Regions from separate parts of the Homo sapiens genome. Here regions 2 and 3 are each linked to region 1. The links are contacts of gene promoters, found by promoter capture Hi-C in blood cells and fetal thymus (Javierre and others, 2016). All regions are on one chromosome and are shown on one strand. The core of a region is centred on a gene start or on the middle of the fragment in contact, and the rest is flanking DNA. Distances in the headings are between cores, read along the strand shown.

Region 1 (2,909 bases), core at 218-2,717:
AGGAGGTAGAGGGTGCTGTGAGCCGAGATTGCACCACTGCACTCTAGCCTACAGGACAGAGCAAGACTCTGTCTCAAAAAAAAAAAAAAAAAAAAAAAGAAAAGAAAAGAAAAGAAAAGAAAGGGACAACTGTGGTTGACCTAGAATTCAGTATACATCACCCCCTAATTTCACCCCCTAATTCTGGACTACTTTGCACTAGGCAACTCAGTCCCTAGCAGTTATTTCCTTAGTGTAGTGCAGCTTGAAATTGTCCATAAAAACTGCAGCAGGGCGCAGCGCCTCACGCCTGTAATCCCAGCACTGTGGGAGGCTCTGGTGGGCGGATCATGAGGTCAGGAGTTGGAGACCAGCCTGGCCAAACATGGTGAAACCTCGTCTCTACTAAAAATACAAAAACTAGCTGGGCGTGGTGGTGCGCGCCTGTAATCCCAGCTACTTGGGAGGCTGAGGCAGGAGAATCACTTGAACCTGGGAGGCGGAGGTTGCAGTGAGCCGAGATCGCATCATTGCACTCCAGCCTGGGCAATAGAGTGAGACTCCATCTCAAGAGAAAAAAAAAAAAAAAAGCGAGACCTCTAGAGCTAAACTGCTTGGGTTTGAGTTCTGGTGCTGTCACTTGTTAACTGTGTGAACTTGGGTAATTCTAATATTTCTGTGCTTCATACATCAATCCCACAATCTCATATATACACACAAATTCTCACCCAATCACAAATGTATAGAGTCACACAAACACACCCATAATCTCACACAATACACAGCCACATAAGCACAAAGATAGATGGTAACATACAACTACACCAACAGAGATAAACAATCACACACAATCACACACAAAGTAGCATACCACAGAAGTCACACATCTTGTCACAATTACTGATACAAAACTATACCTGCGGAGACAGATGGTCATAGTCGCACAATCACACTTGCTGTCACACACATTCAAACGCAATTGTATCCGCAGAAACAGGTGGTCACATAACCACACACATGCATTTACACAAACACACAATGTCACACCCCAGTCTCTCATAAACACATACACAGCTACACCTGCAGAGACAGTCACACACAAACACACATATTCACAGTTTCACCCCCAGACACAGATGGTTACAGTCACACACAAGCGGGCGCACGCGCACAAACACACACACACAGTGACACAAGATCACATTCTGTCACACCCGCAGCCTGTCACATAGTTGGTAATACAGTGAAACACACACGGCCTCCCCAGCGACTCCTGCCGGGTTCCCATCCCTGGCGCGGCCGGGCCACCCGGAGCCCGCCCTTGACTTCCCGCTCCCGCCCGGGGCCCGGCCCCACTCACCTCCCGGCGCCGCGGGCTCTGCAAACGGGCCCCGCGACCGAGACCCGCGACGTCACCTCCCAGAATCCTCCGCGAGGAGGAGCGAGGCGAGGACTGAGGCATGCAGGACTCTGAGCTCTGCGAGATCTGAACCAGCGACACCGCGTTCCCCATGGACCCCGCGAACCACGAGCCCCAGAACGCTTTGCGCCACGGCCGTCATCGTTGAACTACATCTCCCAGAGAACCCCGCGGCCCCCTCCACTGCGCGCCTGCGCCACGGGGGCAGGTACCGGAGAGGGCTGTGTGCGGTCGTAGGCTCTCCAGTGACCTTGAGCTGCTGTGTTGGGGAAAGCGGCCAGGCTGCGCGCGGGGCTGACTGGTTGAATGCTTGGGTGTGGTGGTTCGTGTGTGACTGTTGCTGCACACCTTTATGCTTGCCGACGAAAGGAGCGGCGGATTTTGTCAGTGCAGGGAGCTTCTGTATTTTAAATCACGTCCCGTGATTGTGGGTAGCTGAATGTGAAAGTGATTGTGGATGAAAGAGACTGTGGCTGACATTGGGGGTGACCGTTTCTGTTACTGTGAGGATACCACTGATCCGATGTGTATCTGACTGTCTCCTGGTCTTACTGTTCCTTCACCCCCATCTCCTGCCATGGGCGGGGTCTGTGGTATCTTTTATTGAGGCAATCTCGGCGCTCACTGCAACCTCCGCCTCCCGGGTTCAAGCGATTCTCTTGCCTCAGCCTCCTGAGGAGCTGGGATTACAGGCACCTGCCACCACGCCCAGCTAATTTTTGTATTTTTAGTAGGGATGGGGTTTCACCATGTTGGCCAGGATGGTCTTCATCTCCTGAACTTGTGATCCACCTGCCTCGGCCTCCCCAAGTGCTGGGGTTACAGGCATGAGCCATCGCACCCGGCCTATTTTATTATTATTATTATTTCTCAATTGGTCAAAATAATATATTTAACATTTTAATATTATTAAACATACAAAAGGCCACACTTTGGCCCTCCTCTAGTCAAGCAGTTTCCTTCCTGGTGAAAGTCCATAGGCAGAAACATGCCTGCAAAGATCTCACAACCTTCTTTCAGACCATGCTCTGGGTATCCAAATCCCCAGGATTTCCTGTTCAAATGGACTCCAGCCTGCTTCCAGAGCCTGTATCTCCTCTGTGTCCAAAGACCCTTCCCTTGATCTGTCTTCCAAAGGTGGAATGTGCTGCCTATCCACAAAATGTGGCCAAATGAGAGCAATTTGGTAAGGCTAGACAGAGCTTAGATATGCAAGCTGGAGTGTCCACATGTGGGAATAGAAGACCTCTTACGATGTGGGACAAGGATGGCAGTGGGAACAGAAGGGGACTGGCTGGGGACCTCCATCTGTACTGTTGACCCAGGTCTCTACATGTCAATGACAGGCTCATTTATGTATAAACTATTTTGGAGACCAATGGTCTTATGATGATGGTGGTTTGAATTAGGGTCATCACTGGAAGAGGCAATGAGAAATTGTCAGATTGGGATACAGTTTGAGTGTAGAACTAACAGAAGTTGCTGATGCTTGGTTGTGAATATAGGGAAA
Region 2 (2,909 bases), core at 198-2,697, 1.1 Mb after region 1:
TCCCACCTCCCACACTCATTATTTTCCCTTCTCCACTCTTCACAGGTGACCACTATCAAGAGTTTGGTCTGTATCCTTCCAATCCGTTTCAAAAACATGTACATACATATATGCATCCATTACCAATAGATAGTACTGAGTTTTATGAGGAAACTTTTAATTCAAATTTACAAAAAAGTCATTGTACTATCTGTATCATTCTGCAACTTGATCCCCCCTCAACAATTCTGGGATCTTTCTGTTAATACATGTGGATTTCATTTGTTGCATTTTACAGATATATAGTATTACATAAGAATTTCCCATATTGTTCGTGATGGGCTTTCTCAGTTGTTTCTAATTTTTGGCTACTACAAATCAAGCCACAGTAAATATCCTAGTGCGTATTTCCTGAGCATTCATACTCATAAGTAGAACCGCTAAGTATTTCTCAAATTGTTCCAAGGAATGTTTCCCTATTCCCAAGGTCATATGCATTTTAGTACATAGCTTTTCCATATTTCTGTTTTTAATCTCTGGATTCACTTTTGTGTATAGTTCATGGTCTATTTTTCCCCCTTGGAGAACAAACTACCTCCACTTAAAAAAAATAGTTCCATTATTTCCTCATTTCCTGATGCCACTTGTATCATATTCCAAATTCTAATAAATGCATAGGTCTTTTTTTGAAATCTCTTCTGCTCTGCTCAATCAATACCACAGGAGTCTTAATATTAGTTGTAGATGACCATGTCATCTATTTTTGTCTGTTCCTTTCCAATATTTACAACTTAATTTTTCTTGTTACTGGCGAAGATCTCCAGATCTATGGTGGTAGCAATAAAAAACAGGCCTCCATTTTCTGTTCCCACTTTTAGTGAAAATGTGCCTAAACTTTCACCATTATCTCTGCTGCAGGTTTCTCTGTTGGACACAGGGTTTTAATCATATGCATGTCTTTCTCTTCAGTACAAATTTTCTGGTGTCCCTTAAGTTTTTAGTACTTGTTAAAGTTAACCTCATTCGTGGTGCTTTGCTTCAGAAGGATTATTTCTGGGGCATGATGAGGTGCAAATTTCTAATGAAAGCTTTCCCACTTTCAAGGCTTTCATGGGGTTTTTAGTGAGTATGAATTTTCTGGTGTCTAATGTGGTGTGACTTCTGGCTGAAAGCTTTCCCACATTCACTGCACTGATAAGGCTTCTTACCTGTGTGTATTCTCAAATGCAGAGCAAGGGTTGAGAACTGAGAGAAAGCTTTCCCACATTCATTACAACCATAGGGCTTCTCCCCTGTATGGCTTCTCACATGCACAGTGAGAGATGAGCTCTGAGAGAAGGCTTTTCCACAAACATTGCATTCGTAAGGTTTATCACCTGAATGAATCCTCACATGTACAATAAGTGATGTTCGCTGAGAGAAGGCTTTTCCACATTCGTTACATTCATAGGGTTTCTCTCCAGTGTGAATGTTCTGATGTTTTATGAGGTACTTCTTCTGGCCAAAGGCTGTTCCACATTCACTACATTTAAAAGGCTTCTCTCCAATATGGATTTTCTCATGCTCAGTAAGGTTGGATTTGCCACTGAAGGTTTTTCCACACTCCTTACATACAAAGGGCTTCTCTCCTGTGTGAGTTCTCTGGTGTCTGATGAGGTTTGACTTCTGAATGAAAGCTTTCCCGCAATCTTTACACTCAAAAGGTTTTTCTCCAGTGTGAATTTTCTGGTGCGTAAGGAGGTTTTCCTTCTGGCTAAATGATTTTCCACATTCATTACATTCGAAAAGCTTCTCGCCAGTATGGGTGTTCTGATGTTTAATGACATACTGCTTTTGGCTAAAGGCTTTTCCACACTCGTTACATTCAAAAGGTTTCTCTCTCGTGTGAAAATGCTCATGCTCAGTGAGGTTTGATTTGTGGCTGAAGACTTTTCCACATACCTTACAGGCAAAGGGGTTTTCCCCACTGTAAATTCTCTGCTGGCTGAGGTGTGACATCTGAATGGAAGCTTTCCCACATTCACAAGGTTTCTCTCCAGTAAAAATTTCTTGATGAGTGAGGATTTACTTTTGGCTGAAGATATTTCCACATCTCTTACATTTATAAGGCTTCTCTGTGTATGATCTCCCAAATGCAGAGTAAGGGATAAGGTTTGAGAGGAAATGTTATCATACTCAGTATATTCAATGCTTTCTCTCTAGAAAAATTTTCTAATATTCAATGAAGTATTGCTACCTTCACTAGTTTCTCTCCAGCATGAATTTTCTGCTTCTCAATGAGATTGTCATCTAGCTAAGGGCTTGTCAATACTCCTTAGAAGCACAGGGTTTCTCTTCAGCATGACTTGCACGTTCGACGAAATGCAACATATGAGTAACAGTTCCCCCACATTCAGTAAATTCATAGGGTTTCTCTCCAGTATGAACACTCTGGTAACAGATGAGGTACAAACGTTTTAAACCAAAGACATTTACACTTAAAGGGGGTTAATACCATAAGGAGTAAGCTGTGGTAGAGAAGCTCCCAACTAAGTCCCTTGATGATTCTTTCCTACACAACCTCCCTCATGATTTCAGTCCAGGTTGTGTTTCAAACTGAAAACTTCAAAAAGGTGTGGCCTTAAAACAAATACGATCTGAGAACAGAGGAAGTATTTTTTCTTATATTCAACGCTCTTTTTCTCAGTCTTTCCTGGAGATGGATCAACATGCCTCCCAAGTCCTGGTGCCTCTCAAGTCCTGGTGCCTCTCTATCTGTGCATCATCTTCTCAGGCTTCTTCTAAAATGGAGTACAAAGAACCATAGCACAAAGGAGTTAAATTCATAAAGTGCCCAGAACCATGGCTGCCATATGGTAAGCCCTTCATTTTACCTTTATATTACTATCACTTTTATTTGTTAATTTTCCCATTACTAGCAATAAAATTTT
Region 3 (2,909 bases), core at 193-2,692, 1.0 Mb after region 1:
CCCTCCCTCCCTCCCTTCCCTTCTGTGGGGAAAAGAGAGATCAGACTGTTACTGTGTCTATGTAGAAAGAAGTAGACATAAGAGATTCCATTTTGTTCTGTACTAAGAAAAATTCTTCTGCCTTGAGATGCTGTTAATCTGTAACCCTAGCCCCAACCCTGTGCTCACAGAGACATGTGCTGTGTTGACTCAAGGTTCAATGGATTTAGGGCTATGCTTTGTTAAAAAAGTGCTTGAAGATAATATGCTTGTTAAAAGTCATCACCATTCTCTAATCTCAAGTACCCAGGGACACAATACACTGCGGAAGGCCGCAGGGACCTCTGTCTAGGAAAGCCAGGTATTGTCCAAGATTTCTCCCCATGTGATAGCCTGAGATATGGCCTCATGGGAAGGGTAAGACCTGACTGTCCCCCAGCCCGACATCCCCCAGCCCGACACCCGAAAAGGGTCTGTGCTGAGGAGGATTAGTAAAAGAGGAAGGCCTCTTTGCAGTTGAGGTAAGAGGAAGGCATCTGTCTCCTGCTCGTCCCTGGGCAATAGAATGTCTTGGTGTAAAACCCGATTGTATGTTCTACTTACTGAGATAGGAGAAAACATCCTTAGGGCTGGAGGTGAGACACGCTGGCGGCAATACTGCTCTTTAATGCACCGAGATGTTTGTATAAGTGCACATCAAGGCACAGCACCTTTCCTTAAACTTATTTATGACACAGAGACCTTTGTTCACGTTTTCCTGCTGACCCTCTCCCCACTATTACCCTATTGGCCTGCCACATCCCCCTCTCCGAGATGGTAGAGATAATGATCAATAAATACTGAGGGAACTCAGAGACCAGTGTCCCTGTAGGTCCTCCGTGTGCTGAGCGCCGGTCCCTTGGGCTCACTTTTCTTTCTCTATACTTTGTCTCTGTGTCTCTTTCTTTTCTCAGTCTCTCGTTCCACCTGACGAGAAATACCCACAGGTGTGGAGGGGCAGGCCACCCCTTCAATAATTTACTAGCCTGTTCGCTGACAACAAGACTGGTGGTGCAGAAGGTTGGGTCTTGGTGTTCACCGGGTGGCAGGCATGGGCCAGGTGGGAGGGTCTCCAGCGCCTGGTGCAAATCTCCAAGAAAGTGCAGGAAACAGCACCAAGGGTGATTGTAAATTTTGATTTGGCGCGGCAGGTAGCCATTCCAGCGCAAAAATGCGCAGGAAAGCTTTTGCTGTGCTTGTAGGCAGGTAGGCCCCAAGCACTTCTTATTGGCTAATGTGGAGGGAACCTGCACATCCATTGGCTGAAATCTCCGTCTATTTGAGGCTGACTGAGCGCGTTCCTTTCTTCTGTGTTGCCTGGAAACGGACTGTCTGCCTAGTAACATCTGATCACGTTTCCCATTGGCCGCCGTTTCCGGAAGCCCGCCCTCCCATTTCCGGAAGCCTGGCGCAAGGTTGGTCTGCAGGTGGCCTCCAGGTGCAAAGTGGGAAGTGTGAGTCCTCAGTCTTGGGCTATTCGGCCACGTGCCTGCCGGACATGGGACGCTGGAGGGTCAGCAGCGTGGAGTCCTGGCCTTTTGCGTCCACGGGTGGGAAATTGGCCATTGCCACGGCGGGAACTGGGACTCAGGCTGCCCCCCGGCCGTTTCTCATCCGTCCACCGGACTCGTGGGCGCTCGCACTGGCGCTGATGTAGTTTCCTGACCTCTGACCCGTATTGTCTCCAGATTAAAGGTAAAAACGGGGCTTTTTCAGCCCACTCGGGTAAAACGCCTTTTGATTTCTAGGCAGGTGTTTTGTTGCACGCCTGGGAGGGAGTGACCCGCAGGTTGAGGTTTATTAAAATACATTCCTGGTTTATGTTATGTTTATAATAAAGCACCCCAACCTTTACAAAATCTCACTTTTTGCCAGTTGTATTATTTAGTGGACTGTCTCTGATAAGGACAGCCAGTTAAAATGGAATTTTGTTGTTGCTAATTAAACCAATTTTTAGTTTTGGTGTTTGTCCTAATAGCAACAACTTCTCAGGCTTTATAAAACCATATTTCTTGGGGGAAATTTCTGTGTAAGGCACAGCGAGTTAGTTTGGAATTGTTTTAAAGGAAGTAAGTTCCTGGTTTTGATATCTTAGTAGTGTAATGCCCAACCTGGTTTTTACTAACCCTGTTTTTAGACTCTCCCTTTCCTTAAATCACCTAGCCTTGTTTCCACCTGAATTGACTCTCCCTTAGCTAAGAGCGCCAGATGGACTCCATCTTGGCTCTTTCACTGGCAGCCCCTTCCTCAAGGACTTAACTTGTGCAAGCTGACTCCCAGCACATCCAAGAATGCAATTAACTGTTAAGATACTGTGGCAAGCTATATCCGCAGTTCCGAGGAATTCATCCGATTGATTATGCCCAAAAGCCCCGCGTCTATCACCTTGTAATAATCTTAAAGCCCCTGCACCTGGAACTATTAACTTTCCTGTAACCATTTATCCTTTTAACTTTTTTGCTTACTTTATTTCTGTAAAATTGTTTTAACTAGACCTCCCCTCCCCTTTCTAAACCAAAGTATAAAAGAAGATCTAGCCCCTTCTTCAGAGCGGAGAGAATTTTGAGCATTAGCCATCTCTTGGCGGCCAGCTAAATAAATGGACTTTTAATTTGTCTCAAAGTGTGGCGTTTTCTCTAACTCGCTCAGGTACGACATTTGGAGGCCCCAGCGAGAAACGTCACCGGGAGAAACGTCACCGGGCGAGAGCCGGGCCCGCTGTGTGCTCCCCCGGAAGGACAGCCAGCTTGTAGGGGGGAGTGCCACCTGAAAAAAAAATTTCCAGGTCCCCAAAGGGTGACCGTCTTCCGGAGGACAGCGGATCGACTACCATGTGGGTGCCCACAAAAATTCCACCTCTGAGTCCTCAACTGCTGACCCCGGGGTCAGGT

Evidence for each region. The method cuts DNA at HindIII sites, captures the fragments that hold promoters and counts their contacts. A CHiCAGO score of 5 or more calls a contact.
Region 2: a contact is called between a fragment that was not itself captured here and the fragment with the promoter of ZNF527 in region 1, in 1 of 17 cell types (M2 macrophages). The highest score is 5.1, in M2 macrophages.
Region 3: a contact is called between the fragment with the promoter of LINC00665 here and the fragment with the promoter of ZNF527 in region 1, in 8 of 17 cell types (fetal thymus, total B cells, naive B cells and 5 more). The highest score is 13.7, in fetal thymus.

What each region holds. Positions count from the first base shown.
Region 1 is chr19:37,369,657-37,372,565 of GRCh38, reverse strand. It overlaps ZNF527 (zinc finger protein 527), which reads right to left and starts at 1,467. Exons shown (of 5, transcript NM_032453.2): 1 at 1,340-1,467. RefSeq lists a silencer at 1,068-1,377 and enhancers at 1,408-1,717, 1,888-1,937, 1,958-2,097. The HindIII fragment of the contact is 7,295 bases long and covers 1-2,909 here.
Region 2 is chr19:36,235,509-36,238,417 of GRCh38, reverse strand. It overlaps ZNF146 (zinc finger protein 146), which reads right to left. Exons shown (of 4, transcript NM_007145.3): 4 at 1-2,759. The coding sequence starts at 1,977. The coding sequence ends at 1,099. LOC107985304 (a long non-coding RNA gene) reads left to right here and starts at 2,666. Exons shown (of 2, transcript XR_001753933.3): 1 at 2,666-2,834. It also overlaps a transcript of ZNF565 not described here. RefSeq lists a silencer at 1,844-2,044. The HindIII fragment of the contact is 420 bases long and covers 1,238-1,657 here.
Region 3 is chr19:36,330,251-36,333,159 of GRCh38, reverse strand. It overlaps LINC00665 (long intergenic non-protein coding RNA 665), which reads left to right and starts at 1,442. Exons shown (of 6, transcript NR_038279.1): 1 at 1,442-1,713; 2 at 2,668-2,907. The HindIII fragment of the contact is 13,687 bases long and covers 1,205-2,909 here.